Linked DNA regions of Homo sapiens: regions 1, 2 and 4 are each linked to region 3. Evidence: promoter capture Hi-C in human tissues and cell types (Jung and others, 2019). All regions are on one chromosome and are shown on one strand. The core of a region is centred on a gene start or on the middle of the fragment in contact, and the rest is flanking DNA. Distances in the headings are between cores, read along the strand shown. Region 1 holds the start of NHLRC4 (NHL repeat containing 4). Region 2 overlaps LUC7L (LUC7 like). Region 3 holds the start of DECR2 (2,4-dienoyl-CoA reductase 2). Region 4 holds the start of WDR90 (WD repeat domain 90).

What was found. The method cuts DNA at HindIII sites, captures the fragments that hold promoters and counts their contacts. A contact is called where the count stands out against the background at its distance.
Region 1: a contact is called between the fragment with the promoter of NHLRC4 here and the fragment with the promoter of DECR2 in region 3, in 1 of the 25 tissues and cell types used here (lymphoblastoid cells).
Region 2: a contact is called between a fragment that was not itself captured here and the fragment with the promoter of DECR2 in region 3, in 1 of the 25 tissues and cell types used here (dorsolateral prefrontal cortex).
Region 4: the fragment with the promoter of WDR90 here is called in contact with the fragment with the promoter of DECR2 in region 3 in 2 of the 25 tissues and cell types used here (IMR-90 fibroblasts and lymphoblastoid cells).

What each region holds. Positions count from the first base shown.
Region 1 is chr16:565,626-568,764 of GRCh38, reverse strand. NHLRC4 (NHL repeat containing 4) reads right to left here and starts at 1,760. Exons shown (of 2, transcript NM_001301159.2): 1 at 1,690-1,760; 2 at 1-1,294. The coding sequence starts at 717. The coding sequence ends at 346. RefSeq lists enhancers at 1,436-1,485, 1,434-2,329. The HindIII fragment of the contact is 8,856 bases long and covers 1-3,139 here.
Region 2 is chr16:202,805-206,186 of GRCh38, reverse strand. It overlaps LUC7L (LUC7 like), which reads left to right. Exons shown (of 10, transcript NM_201412.3): 5 at 40-183. Among named protein-coding and RNA genes, the nearest start is that of HBQ1, 24 kb to the right of the region's middle. The HindIII fragment of the contact is 7,140 bases long and covers 1-3,382 here.
Region 3 is chr16:400,545-403,479 of GRCh38, reverse strand. DECR2 (2,4-dienoyl-CoA reductase 2) reads right to left here and starts at 1,595. Exons shown (of 9, transcript NM_020664.4): 1 at 1,437-1,595. The coding sequence starts at 1,516. NME4 (NME/NM23 nucleoside diphosphate kinase 4) reads right to left here. Exons shown (of 5, transcript NM_005009.3): 5 at 2,726-2,935. RefSeq lists enhancers at 2,030-2,615, 2,463-2,772. The HindIII fragment of the contact is 11,138 bases long and covers 1-2,828 here.
Region 4 is chr16:648,114-651,393 of GRCh38, reverse strand. WDR90 (WD repeat domain 90) reads right to left here and starts at 2,029. Exons shown (of 41, transcript NM_145294.5): 1 at 1,968-2,029; 2 at 1,540-1,631; 3 at 1,227-1,403; 4 at 1,032-1,140; 5 at 685-855; 6 at 291-399; 7 at 128-195. The coding sequence starts at 1,977. It overlaps MCRIP2 (MAPK regulated corepressor interacting protein 2), which reads right to left. Exons shown (of 5, transcript NM_138418.4): 5 at 2,920-3,274. The coding sequence ends at 3,204. It overlaps LOC105371038 (a long non-coding RNA gene), which reads left to right and starts at 2,081. Exons shown (of 2, transcript NR_135177.1): 1 at 2,081-2,439; 2 at 2,779-2,936. RefSeq lists silencers at 1,655-1,784, 1,895-1,994 and an enhancer at 1,170-1,992. The HindIII fragment of the contact is 7,525 bases long and covers 1-3,280 here.

The DNA.
Region 1 (3,139 bases), core at 511-3,010, 170 kb before region 3:
CTGCCAGCCCCAAAGTCCAGGCACAGGGCCTGAGGGGGTGTGGGGGGCATGAATGCAGGGGCCAGGGCACTGAATGGGGACAGCAGAGAGCAGCCCTGGCTGGGGAGGCTGCAGGCCTGGCAGGGGCAGCCTGGGAAGCAGACTCAGGGCTGCTCCTGAGATCCGGAGCCTCACCAGCAGGAGAACTCGAGCCAAGCCCAGGGCCCAGCCCAGGTGGTGCTGGCATCAGGCAGGCAATGCCCATAGCCTGGAGGCTCCACCCATCCTGAGGGTTCCTCCCGCGGTGATCCAAGGGCCTGGGAGCTGGCCTCAGGCACAGGAGGGCTGCTCCAACCCAGCCTCAGGTCAGGCCAGCTCCTTGAGGCCCTGGTACACCTTGATGGAGTTGTCCTTGGCATCAGCCACCAGGAGCTGGCCCTGGGGTGCACAGGCCACTCCCAAGGGCTGCCCAAGCCCCTCTGACACCAGGCAGATGGGTGGCCCAGCCCGGGGAAACAGGGTCACCTGGCGCCTCTGCTCGTCTGCCACAATAACATTGCCCTCTGAGTTGGAGCAGATGCCCGCTGGGCAGCCGAAAGTGTGCCCCGTCCAGCCCCCCAGGGAGCCCAGGGGTTGGCGGGCACTGCCAAACAGCCTCACATCCCCAAACTCCTCACTCACAGCAAGGCCCCCATCAGGCCCTGGGCCCACCCAGCAGGGGCCCTCCAGACCCAGCATGGAGGCTGGGGCCAGGGGCTCCCAAGCAGGACCCAACGAGAAGCTGTGCACAGCCCCAGGCAAGTAGTCCGTCACCAGGAGGCGGTTGAGGGCATCCACAGCCAGCCCTCGGGGAGACAGGAAGGTGCCCACTGTCACCCAGTGGCCCCCGGGGTCCCGGGCTGTGTGCTGGAGTGCATGGACAGCCCCATGGATGGGATCGCTGACCACCACAAGCCCTGACGCTGTCACAGCCACGTCCTCTGGAACGAAGGCCCCGCTCCCCGGAGTGCGGCAGGGCAGGAGGCAGATGGGGCGTCCCTCCAGATCTAGCACGTGGACACAGGGTGCAGCCCCGGCCGTGAGGAAGAGCAGGCCATCGGGGGAGCAGTGCAGGCCCCGGGGCCCTCCCACAGCCCCTGCGGGCACCCGGATCCACCCAAGCAGCCGGAGCTGCCGGGAGCCCGTGGAGTCTCCAGGTGGGTCCAGTGTGAGGTGCAGACACCTGGAGGCCAGAGTCCAGTCAGTCCGAATCACCGTCTCAGCTTCTCTGCAGCTGGGTCACGCTTGGGGCTGCAAGAGAGAGAATAAGGCCCCACTGTGTGTGGGAATGGCAAAGTCACTCCTCCAGTTTCTTCCTATGAGGCCGGGTCCTCCTGGTCCTGAGGGTCTACCTGGCCACCAAGCCCAGCGGCCACCCTAGTGTCTAGGTGCCTGGGACTTGAGTCTGGGAGACACATGACCCGTGGAGCTCGCTGTGGGTTTTCCCCTGAGCCCCAGATGAGCTCATGGGCCTCAGACAGATAAGCAACATTTCTCAAATCCATCTGCCTGTGGAACCCCTTTCTACGGCGGGGGGGCGGTCACCCACACACAGCCCTTCTACCCGAGCCCCTAGGTCAGGGAGACTTCTGACCCCTTAGGGGCGAGGCAGCCTATTCCGAGGGCCTCCACCTGCCCCACCGAGAGAGGCCGGGGGGAGGGGTCTCTTACCTGGGCCCTGTCTCGCTGGGCCCTGCTTCGGGGCTGGGTGGCTGCAGCCTCTGTTGTTGGAAACTAGAACTGGAGGAAGTGGGAGGAGCCACTGGCAGGGACGCAGCTGGGCCGGGTGGAGGAGGGAGAGTGCAGTCTCCGGCCTTGGCCCCTGAAGCTTCTATGAAAGAAAAACCAGGTCCCCTGAGGACTCCCCATGCTGTGGTGTTCCTGCCTCCGCGCCTTGTTGCAGGCTGCGCCCTCTGCCCGGACACTATTCCCACGTCCCCTACACGGCCAGATGCCATGCAGCCCACCCCCCTCCAGGGGTCCCCCATGGTCCCCCCACAACCAGCAAGTTCATTACTCCAAGTGGCAAGGCAGCCCCAGGCTGCCACCCCCAAGCAGGGTCCTTGGGTCTGGACCACAGGCGGGTGACCTGCTGGCTGAGGCACCCTCCATGAGGCCTGTCCTGCTCCCCACGGGTGACAGCGAAGGAGGTCGTGTCTCCACACCTGGGAGACGGGTGCTGTTGCCCCCAGCAAGGCCATGCTCACCTGTCTGCTCAGTGGGGGTGAGAAACTGAGGTGCAGTGGACATATGGGGTGCAGTGGACATATGGGGGGCGGGGGCTGAGGACAGGGAGTCTCCCTCAGACTCGGGACTTGGGAACAGTTCCTGGCTGCCCAGAGCCCCCTGCAGCCCCTCCAGGAAGCCTCTGGGTAGAGGGGCCCGGCTGGGACCTGTCCCCACAGCACTCCGCGCCTGGCCAGGCAGCACCCCAGCTCTAGCTGCCCCGAGGCAGGGTCGGGGCTGATGCTATCTCCCTGGTAGTTAATGGGGCCGCTGCCAGCCTGCTTGGACTGGCCCCAGCCCGGCTGGACGCAGGCAGGAACTGCTTCTCCTCCTGGGGGGGCGATGTGGGCTCCAGAGCCCATTCCAGGGTGGGCGTGGAGGGTGTGGCCAGCTCTCCCAGGAGAGAAGTGATTTGCTGTGGGGGTCCCGGGTGCCCCTCCCTGTCTGCCCATCCCCTGCCCGTGGGAGGGCCAAGCCAGGCCCTGCTGGGAGGGAGGCAGTGAGCTGTGAAGGCTGATACCTATCACGGCTGCAGGGGCTGGCAGGGGCCAGCAGAGCCCACGCTGGGTGAGCAGCCTCCAGCCACAGAGCCCCGGGGCCACCGTTTAACCGCAGGAGAGCTGATATGAGCGCGGCCTTGCTGGATTCAGAGGCTAGAGGATGTTCAGGGGTCCGTGCCCACCCCCGACACACCAAGACACAGGCCGAGCAGCCCAGTCCACACGCCTCTCCACCCCCGACACACCAAGACACAGGCCGAGCAGCCCAGTCCACACGGCTCTCCTGGCTCAGCTCCCGTCGCCGATGTCCCGCCCCACCCCCAGACCCCAGCCCCGCGGGGAGGGCCCAGCCCACAGGAGAGGGCCGAGTCTGAAGACAGAGGCCCAGCAGGACT
Region 2 (3,382 bases), core at 736-3,235, 200 kb after region 3:
TTTTCAGATGTCTGCTTACCTCATTCTTTCTCCTCACAGGCAGAAAAAGTACATGAGTTAAATGAAGAAATAGGAAAACTCCTTGCTAAAGCCGAACAGCTAGGGGCTGAAGGTAATGTGGATGAATCCCAGAAGATTCTTATGGAAGTGGAAAAAGTTCGTGCGAAGAAAAAAGAAGCTGAGGTTGGTGAGATAAGTGCCTTAGGGCAAGAGAAATCTTAGTAATTTGGCAGCGTTGACCGTTGGAATTAATTGAGCCCATGCTTGCTCCCATTTTTTAAAAAATTTATACATTTTGGGCCCAGCACAGTGGCTCACGCCTGTCATCCCAGCACTTTGGAAGGCCGAGGCGGGCGGATCACGAGGTCAGGAGATAAGACCATCCTGGCTAACACAGCGAATCCCCGTCTCTACTAAAAATACAAAAAAATTAGCCGGGCATGGCGCCAGGCACCTGTAGTCCCAGCTGCTCCGGAGGCTGAGGAAGGAGAATGGCGTGAACCCGGGAGGCGGAGCTTGCAGTGAGCTGAGATTGCGCCACTGCACTCCAGCCTGGGCGACAGAGCGAGACTCTGTCTCAAAAAAATTTATAAACGCTGTTTTTGCAAGCAGTTTTAGCTTCATAGCTAAATTGAGAGGAAAGTACAGAGATTCTCCATGTACCCTCTCCTCAGACAGCCTCCTCCATTCCTAGCATCTGCCCACAGTCAGTGGGTCTACGTTGACTTGTCATTATCACCCAAAGTCTGCAGAAAATGTTAGGTATGTCATGAATACATAAAATATATGAGGATACTAGTCTTTTATTTACTGCCATAAAATATACACAAGTCTATTATGAAAAGGTAACATTTGTCAAAACTTAAGCATATGGCCAGCTATGGTGGCTCTTGGCTTTAGTCTCAGCTGTTCGGGAGGCTGAGATGAGAGGATCCCTTAATCCTAGGACTTTTGGAGTCCAGCCTGGATAACATAGCAAGACCCTGTCTCTAAAAAAGAAGAGGCTACATGCAAACGCTTACAGACCATACATGACAGCATTCGCCGTAGAGAGATGTTAACAAACGTAGTGCAGAGGTGCAGTATTAAATCAGGGCTGCCTAAGAATAACTGTAATAGGTACTGTACTACTGTAATAATTCATGCCACTTCCTGTTGCCATTGTGTGGAGCTCAAGGGTCGTGAGTATCCCCTTGAAACACCACGTGACACTCATCATCTCCGAAGGAGCAGTTCACCTCTCCAGTACATTCCTACTGCAGTAAAAAGTGAACTCACAGGGTTCCTAGGCGTTTTTCATCGTGTTTAGTGCAATACCATAAACTTTGAGTAATGCCATAGGATCCATATGCCACTAGTGATGCTGAAAATGCTCCCAAGAAGGCAAGAACAGCCATGATATTACAAGAAAAAGTTGAGTTGCTTGATGTATACATTAGATTGAGGTCTGCAGCTGCAGTTGCTACCATTTCAGACGGACAATTCATCTTGTAAATGAGCAGTGTAAACGTACAGAAGTGATCAGTACAGCACAGTACTATAAATGTATTTTATTTTCTCTTCCTTATAATTTTCTCTCTTTTTTTTTTTTTTGAGATGGAGTCTCGCTCTGTCCCCCAGGCTGGAGTGCAGTGGTGCGATCTCAGTTCACTGCAAGCTCCGCTTCCTCGGTTCACACCATTCTCCTGCCTCAGCCTCCAGAGTAGCTGAGACTACAGGCGCCCACCACCACGCCCGGCTAATTTTTTTGTACTTTCAGTAGAGATGGGGTTTCACTGTGTTAGCCAGGATGGTCTCAATCTGACCTCGTGGTCCACCCGCCTCGGTCTCCCAAACTGCTGGGATTACAGGAGTGAGCCACCATGCTCGGCCCATGGCTAATTTTTTTTTTTTTTTTTCATTTCTAGTAGGGATGGGGTTTCACCGTGTTGGCCAAGCTGGTCTCAAACTTCTGACCTCAGGTGATCCGTCTGCCTTGGCCTCCCAAAGTGCTGGGATCACAGGCGTGAGCCACTTCGCCAGGCCATTTGATACCTTTTATGAGTCTTGTAATTTTTCTCATAGTGAAGATCTCATGCATGTTTTGTTAGATTTCTACCTAAATATTTCATGCTTGCGGGTGCTGGTGTAATTGGTCATTTGTTTTTTGGTTTTTGTTTTTGTGTTTTTTTGAGATGGAGTCTCATTCATTCGCCCAGGCTGGAGTGCAGTGGCGTGATCTCGGCTCACTGCAACCTCCGCCTCCCGGGCTCAAGCGATTCTCCTGCCTCAGCCTCCCGAGTAGCTGAGACTATAGGCGTGTGCCACCATACCTGGCTAATTTTTTGTGTTTTTAGTAGAGATATGATTTAACCGTGTTAGCCAGGATGGCCTCTATCTCCTGACCTCATGATCCGCCTGCCTTGGCCTCTCAAAGTGCTGGGATTACAGGTGTGAGCCACCGCGCCCAGCCCTCCCCACCTCCACCCCGCCCCCCGCCCTGAGACGGTCTCACTTTCTCACCCAGGCTGGAGTGCAGTGGCGCGATCTTGGCTCACTGAAGGCTTGATCTCCTGGGCTCATTTGATTCTCCCGCCTCAGCCTTTCAAATAGCTAGGACTGAAGGCACATGCCACCAAGCCCAGCTAATTTTTTGTATTTTTTGGAGAGACTGGGTTTCGCCATGTTGTCAAGGCTGGTCTTGAAATCCTTGGCTCAAGCGATCTGCCTAGCTCTGCTTCCCAAAGTGCTGGGATTAGAGTCATGAGTCACCATGATGCCTGGCCTCTTGTAATACCTTTATCTGGTTTTGGTATTATGGTAATGTCCCCATAGAAGGAGTTAGAAGATACTCTCTCTGCTTCTATTTTCTGAAAGCGATTGTAGAGAATTGGCATGATTTGCTCCCTAATGCTTTGGTAGAATTCACCAGTAAACCCATCTGGACCTGATGCTTTCTGTTTTGGAAGGTTATTAATATACAGATTCATTCAGATCATCTGTTTCTTCTTGTGTGAGTTTTGGCAGATTGTGTCTTTCAACATTATTATACTTTTTTTTTACACGGAGTCTCTCTCTGTTGCCCAGGCTGGAGTGCGGTGGTGCGATGGCTCGCTGCAACCTCCAACTCCTGGGTTCAACTGATTATCCTGCCTCAGCCTCCTGAGCAGCTGAGATTACAGGTGCCTGCCACCATGCCCAGCTAATTTTTGTATTTTTAGTAGAGAAGACGGGGTTTCACCATGTCGGTCAGGCTGGTCTCAAACTCCTGACCTCAAGTGATCCACCTGCCTCAGCCTCCCACAGTGCTGGGATTACAGGCGTGAGCCACTGCTCCTGGCTGTCTTTGAAGGGATCGGTCCATTTCATCTAGTTTATCGCTTTTGTGGGCATGGAGTTGTTG
Region 3 (2,935 bases), core at 346-2,845:
CGTCGGGATAATATGGCTTTTTTATTTATTAGAGATTTTCTTGTACGCATTAAATGTGTACTGATCGGTATGACTGGCACAAACTGTACCAGATGGATGGCAAACTTTTGCTGATCTCCAAGTTGCCTTTCCTATTCTTAATTATTAAAGATTAATTTTGGGCCAGGTGCAGCGTCTCACTCCTGTCATCCCAGCACTTTGGGAGGCCGAGGCAGGTGGATCATCTGAGGTCAGGAGTTCCAGACCAGCCTGACCAACATGGTGACACTCACCTCTACTAGAAATACAATTAGCCCAGCGTGGTATTGTGTGCCTATAGTCCCACTTGGGCGCACTGAGGCTGAAGCAGGAGAATTGGGAGGCTGAGGCAGGAGAATTGCTTCAACCCAGAATGAGACTCCGTTTCGAAAAAAAACTTTTTTTTTTTCCTGCAGAACACTCAGAGAGAATTGTCAATACCTGTCCTTGGAGAACATAATTTAAAACTTGTTTTCTTTTTTTGAGATGGAGTTTCACTCTTGTTGCCCAGTGCAATGGTGCGATCTCGGCTCACTGCAACCTCCACCTCCCGAGTTCAAGTGATTCTCCTGCCTCAGCCTCCCAAGTAGTTGGGATTACAGGTGTGCGCCACCACACCCGGCTAATTTTTTGTATTTTTAGCAGAGACGGGGTTTCACCATGTTGGCCAGGCTGGTCTCGAACTCCTGACCTCTGGTGATCTACCCGCTTCGGCCTCCCAAAGAGCTGGGATTACAGGCGTGAGCCACTGCTCCTGGCAAAAGATCAAAATTTTAATAGAAACTTGAAAATGTTGCCAATTGAAAAAAAGAAAAGGAAAAAAAAAAAAGGATCCGCCCATTAGCCGAGTGAGGGCAGGTGACCGGGGAGGATCGACCTTTGCCCGGGCTGCCTTCTCTTGTGAACACCAAGGCGTTTGCAGGAAAATGAAGAGCTGCTGGGCAAAACCTGGCATTCCTGGGCCTTCTGGGTCTTCCGGAAAAATGATTTCAACCTAAAATTTTCTGTTAAGAAAGAGGCCAGGTTGGGCCGGGCGCGGTGGCTCACGCCTGTAAATCCCAGCACTTTGGGAAGCCGAGGCGGGTGGATCACCTGAGGTCAGGAGTTCGAAAAGAGCCTGACCAACACGGTGACACCCCCTCTCTACTAAAAATAAAAATTAGCCGGGCTGAGGCAGGAGAATCGCTTGAACCCGGGAGGCAGAGTTTGCAGTGAGCGGAGATCGTGCCACTGCACTCCAGCCTGGGCGACACAGCGAGATTCCGTCTCAAAAAAAAAAAAAGAAAGAAAAAAGAAAGAAAGGAGCCAGGCAAGACAGGTTTCCTAACACGCGAGCCCTCGGGGACCACGTGGGGGCGCCGGCGCCCGCGGACCGGACCCCGCACCAAGGCTGCGCTCGCTTCCCAGGCCCCGCTCACCGCAGCAGGTCCGGGCAGAAGAGGTGGCGGTACGCGGGGAGACAGTCGTCCCCCTCCACGTCGGGCGGCGGCTGGGCCATGGCGCTCCCGTCGGGGACTGCGGGGACAACGGGCGGGAGCGGCCTCGGCCTCCAGGACCCGGCGCGCAGCTGCGAACTCGCCTGGAACCGGGAGCCCCGCCCCACTCCCCGGACGCCCCGCCCCTGCCCTGATTGCTTCCCGGAGGCCCCGCCCCTCCCCCGAATTCTCCCCGGAGGCCCCGCCCCCGCCCGCGGCCTGCTGGGACTGGAAGTCGGCGCGCGAGGCGCAGGCGCATTGCGGGGCCGGGGGCGCGGTTCCCGCGGCAGAAGCTCGGCGGTCTGCGGGTCTCCTCCCCGAGTCTTTTTCACAGGTATTCGGCGTCAGCGCCGCGTTCAGAGCCTCCAGGACTTGTGGGATACCCCTGGCTCCTGGGTCCAGGCCAGGCTCGCAGCCTCTGGGCTCCCCGTTCGCCTCCCCGTAAACACCATGGGGAGGGCCGGGGCCCAGGGAAGCGCGGCCAGCCCCGCGCCGCTTCCCAAAATGACCCGTTTTGAGGCCAATAAAGAAGGGTCCGGGGCCGGGCGCGGTGGCTCACGCCTGTAATCCCAACACTTTGGGAGGCCGAGGCGGGCGGATCACGAGGTCAGGAGTTCGAGACCATCCTGGACAACATGGCGAAACCCCCTCTTTACTAAAAATACAAAAATTAGCCGGGCATTGTGGCGGGTGCCTGTAGTTCCATCTACTCGGGAGGCTGAGGCAGGAGAATCGCTTGAACCCGGGAGGCGGAGGTTGCAGTGAGCCGAGATCGCGCCACTGCACTCTATCCTGGGCGACAGAGCGACACTCCGTTTCAAAAACAAAAACAAAAAAAAAAGGGTCCGTTACTTCTGTTCCGCGTGGGGGCCCGGGCGGGGCTATGCCGCGAACCCAGGACGGGGCGCCCCGCCCGCACCACTGTTGGAAGACGGGGGTCCGCGACGGCCACGGGGGAAAAACACGCAGGGCCGCTCCTGAGCTGAACACACCCGCGGGCCAGCGGCTTCAGGGGCGTGACAGAGCCGCCAGCGCTACAGTAATGGCTGCCAGGCCCTTTCTGCGCTGGTTGGCCTCAGCCCGCCGGCCCCTCTCTGCCCCTTCCCCGGGAAGGCAGCTTCTCCTTTGGCGGGATCACAGCACCGGCTCGCGCCTAGCTTGGGTTCTCCGGATTGCAGGCTGGTGGTCTCTGGACCCCTGCCTGGCTCATACATCCAACAACGTTATGGAACTGGGTGTGCAAAACTTCCTCTTTACTGTTCAACTCCTTACAACTTGCATAAAGGCGTCATTTCTACCTCAGAGCTGGGGGAAGTCATAATTAGTGTACCACCCATGTGCTGGGCACAGTGAATTTTAATGCCTCCCCTTTAGAGGAGAGGTTATGATAATGTGAAGACCCCCCCCCACCACAAAGGTTGTCCGGCACTTTGGTGCAAAAA
Region 4 (3,280 bases), core at 780-3,279, 250 kb before region 3:
TCCCTGGGTCCCTGCACCAGCTGCAGCCAGCACACCACTGGGTCCTTTCCCAGCCCTGCCCTCTCCTACCGAGCCCCACGCACCCTACAGGCCTTAACCTGGGTCCCCGCTGACCCCCCAGACCCACCTGCCTCAGGAGGGGAACAGCTCTTCTCAATCGGCTTGGAAGGCACTTTCAAGCTCTCACTTGGAAACCTTGGCAGGCAGAGGGAGAGTCAGTGTCTGGGGGCCCAAGGGCCACCCACCCTCCCACCACCGAGGCCTCCCTCGAAAGAAGCAGAACCACTCACCGGACGTGGATGTAGCGGTCATGCCAGCTCTCTCCCTTGGGCACAGGGAATGCCATTTCCCGAGGCATAGGAGTCACGGGCAGCTTTGCCCACTGGGCCCCAGAGATGGCTACAAGGAGCAGGGTTGTTCCAGGTCAAGGGAGGCTGTTTAGCCACCTGAACACAGGGCACCCGCCAAGGCACTGCCACGCCACCAGCCCAGCCACCGCCCCACCCCAGGGCTGCCTCTGGGATGGGTTCTGACCCCAGGGCTGCCTCTGGGATGGGTTCTGGCCAGAGCTCAGAGACAGCACAGCTCGAGCACTGTATTTTCCCAAGCACCCTGGACTTGGGCCTCTCCAGGGCTGAGAGCATGGGTGAGATATGGAGTGGGGAGTGCAGGTGCGGCCCTCACCAGGCTCAAAGCACAGGTCACTGGTGTACAGGTTCCTGACCAGCAGGCTGGCGCACAGCCTGATGCTCTTGAGATGGCCGTAGCACCGGTTCAGGTAGACCAGGAGAACGTCCTGCAGATCGAGCTGCAGGCAGGTCCAGCGGGCTCCGGAGGGGGCCAAACCCACCAGATCTGCAGGATGGGCACTCAGGGTCAGCGCCCACCCTCCTGACAGCCCGCGACTCCCAGAACTGTGAGCTTGTGCCCCCGCCAGGTTGTCCTCCAGGCCGCAGAGGAGCCTCACTGGGCCTGCACCAACTCCCTCCAGCCACCTGTCCTGGATCATCCACACCCCATCTTGGTGTCACCTCTCTGAGGTGTCCTGGCCTCCAGGACCAAGGGAAACTGGAGCCACGTGGCCGTAGACTTAAACTCCTTGAAGAGGTTGGAGAAAGACACACGGATGACTTGGTTGTCCTGTGGGGACGGAGCAGGGCCGTGAGGAGACAGGGGCCGCAGGGGTGCCGGGGCTCCCACGCAGCCCCCAGCCGCGGGCTCCGTACCTTGGAGGACACATCGAGGTGGATGACGAAGTGCTTGCTGGGCAGGGGCCGAAAGAGCACATACAGGTATCGTCCCGTCAGCCCCAGAGACTGGGTGCTGCTCTTAGGGAGCTGGATGTAGTTGGCGGCAGAGACTGAGCCCCGAATGCGATACACGGCGCCCTTCAGGGTCTTGTCCTGGAGAAGCGGGAGCCCGCATCACCGACAGCACCCAGAAGAAGTGCAGCGGGGGCGAGGGGGCCCTCGGGGGCGGGGCAGCTCTCCTGGGGGCAGGGCAGGGGTGTGGGCTCCGGGCGAGCCCCCGGCCGCCTACCGTGACCACGGCCACGTCCCCCTGCTTGGCGGAGCGCTTCCACTCGTCCACCCGGAAGTGTCTGAAGACGTTGAGGAACGGGTGCTGCCACGCTGCGGGGAGCGGGCGCCGGGCGTCAGGGGACTCGGCCACGCGAGCCGGGGCCACTGCGGGGCTGGGCCGGGCCTCGGGGACCAGGCAGGAGCCGGGGCTCTCCGCGCCTTCCCCGGCGACGCCAACGCCAGCTAGGCTGGCGGGACGAGGCCGGGCGCCCGAGGGAAGCCAAGCTCCGGGAGCCCGAGGGTGGGCGCCCGGCAGACGGGACCCTGCCTGAGCGGGGACTCTGGCCTCAGGGCCTAGGCGGGGGCCCTGAGCGCTCCGGCCGCCGACCCTGGACCCCGGAACCCCGGAACCCGGGATCCTCGGGACCCCCGCCAGCCGCGCGCTACCTCGGGCCATGGCGCCGCCGCTCGAGCTTCCCGCCTAGGCCTCCGCGCGCCCAGCGCAGAGTACGCCCCGCGACGCCAGGCAACGGCTGCCTGGCAACGGTGCCACTTCCGCCATTACTTCCGCCGTCATGGCGGCGCCCTGGCCACGTGACCTCCCCGGTGGGAGTACCCCGCTCACGTCAGCGGCCTCCAGGGTTGCTCCAGCCGCGAATCCCGCTGCCCTTTGCCCCGCGGGCCTCCCAAGGCAGCCCCCTGTTAGCCCGACCGGCTTCGAAGCCCGCGCCGGTTGCGGATCCTCCGCCGCGCCCACCTGTCAGCGCCTCGGCCGGCCGGGGCTCCCGCCGCATGCAAGCAGCGAGGCGAGGTCGCGCTGAGGCCTGGCCATGCCACGGACGGCCGGGCCTCACCCTGCCGCTCTCTCGCCGTCCAGAGGCCCCTGCTCCACACCTGGGTACCCTGGGTCCTGACTCAGGTGGGCTGGGTCATCCCCGTCCATCAGGGAAGGTAGTGCGGGCGCCCGCGGAGGGGCTGGTTCCCACGTTCGTCCTATCAGGTTCCCCACGTACTCCTTCGCCCAGTGTCCTGCGGCCGGGCCCGGCGGATTCAGAATGGGACCTGGCGTTCTGAGACACAGCCCCAGTGCCGGTAGTGGGGGGTGGTGGACTGCACTCCGGGGCCATTTAATGTCTTTAGGCCTTGAGTCTCGGCTTCGGTCCCAGTCAACGCCAACGGGAGAGGAAAGAGGAACCAAGTGGGGTCCCCAGACTTCCAAGCAAGGTGGGCTGGCTAACGTCCCTCCTACCTGTCGCAGGGCAGCTGGGTGAGAAGCTAACGGCTTGAAGGAACAGGGCTACAAGGGGAGTTTGTGCTGGGCCTGGCGTCCCAGGCTGTGGACTGGAACTGGACATGAGAACCCCCCCTACACCCTCCCAAGTCAAAGACACTCCAAAAAGACAGTTTCTCCACTTTATTAGCCTGGAGCTCCTCCCTGCCAGCCCCAGGGGCTGGTCGCTGGTCCCTGGGCACAGTGAGCAGGGCTGAGGTCAGACGGGTTCGGCCCTTGGCCATGGCAGCTTGGTTGGGACAGCCGGGCCAAGGGAAAAAAAGGTGCAAAAGTCCAAATGCTGGCACTTCAGGTGTGGCCGGCACCCAGCCAGGCGCAGTGGGTGGGCAGGGCGCCATGCTTCTCTCCTGGCGACAGGTCGGCCGTGTAGCAGCGCCCCCTCCCAGCAGCCACTAGGAACAGCTGGTGATTCTCGCCAGGAACTGCTGCGCCCACCACTCGTCTAGGTCAATGGGCACAAAGTCTGTGG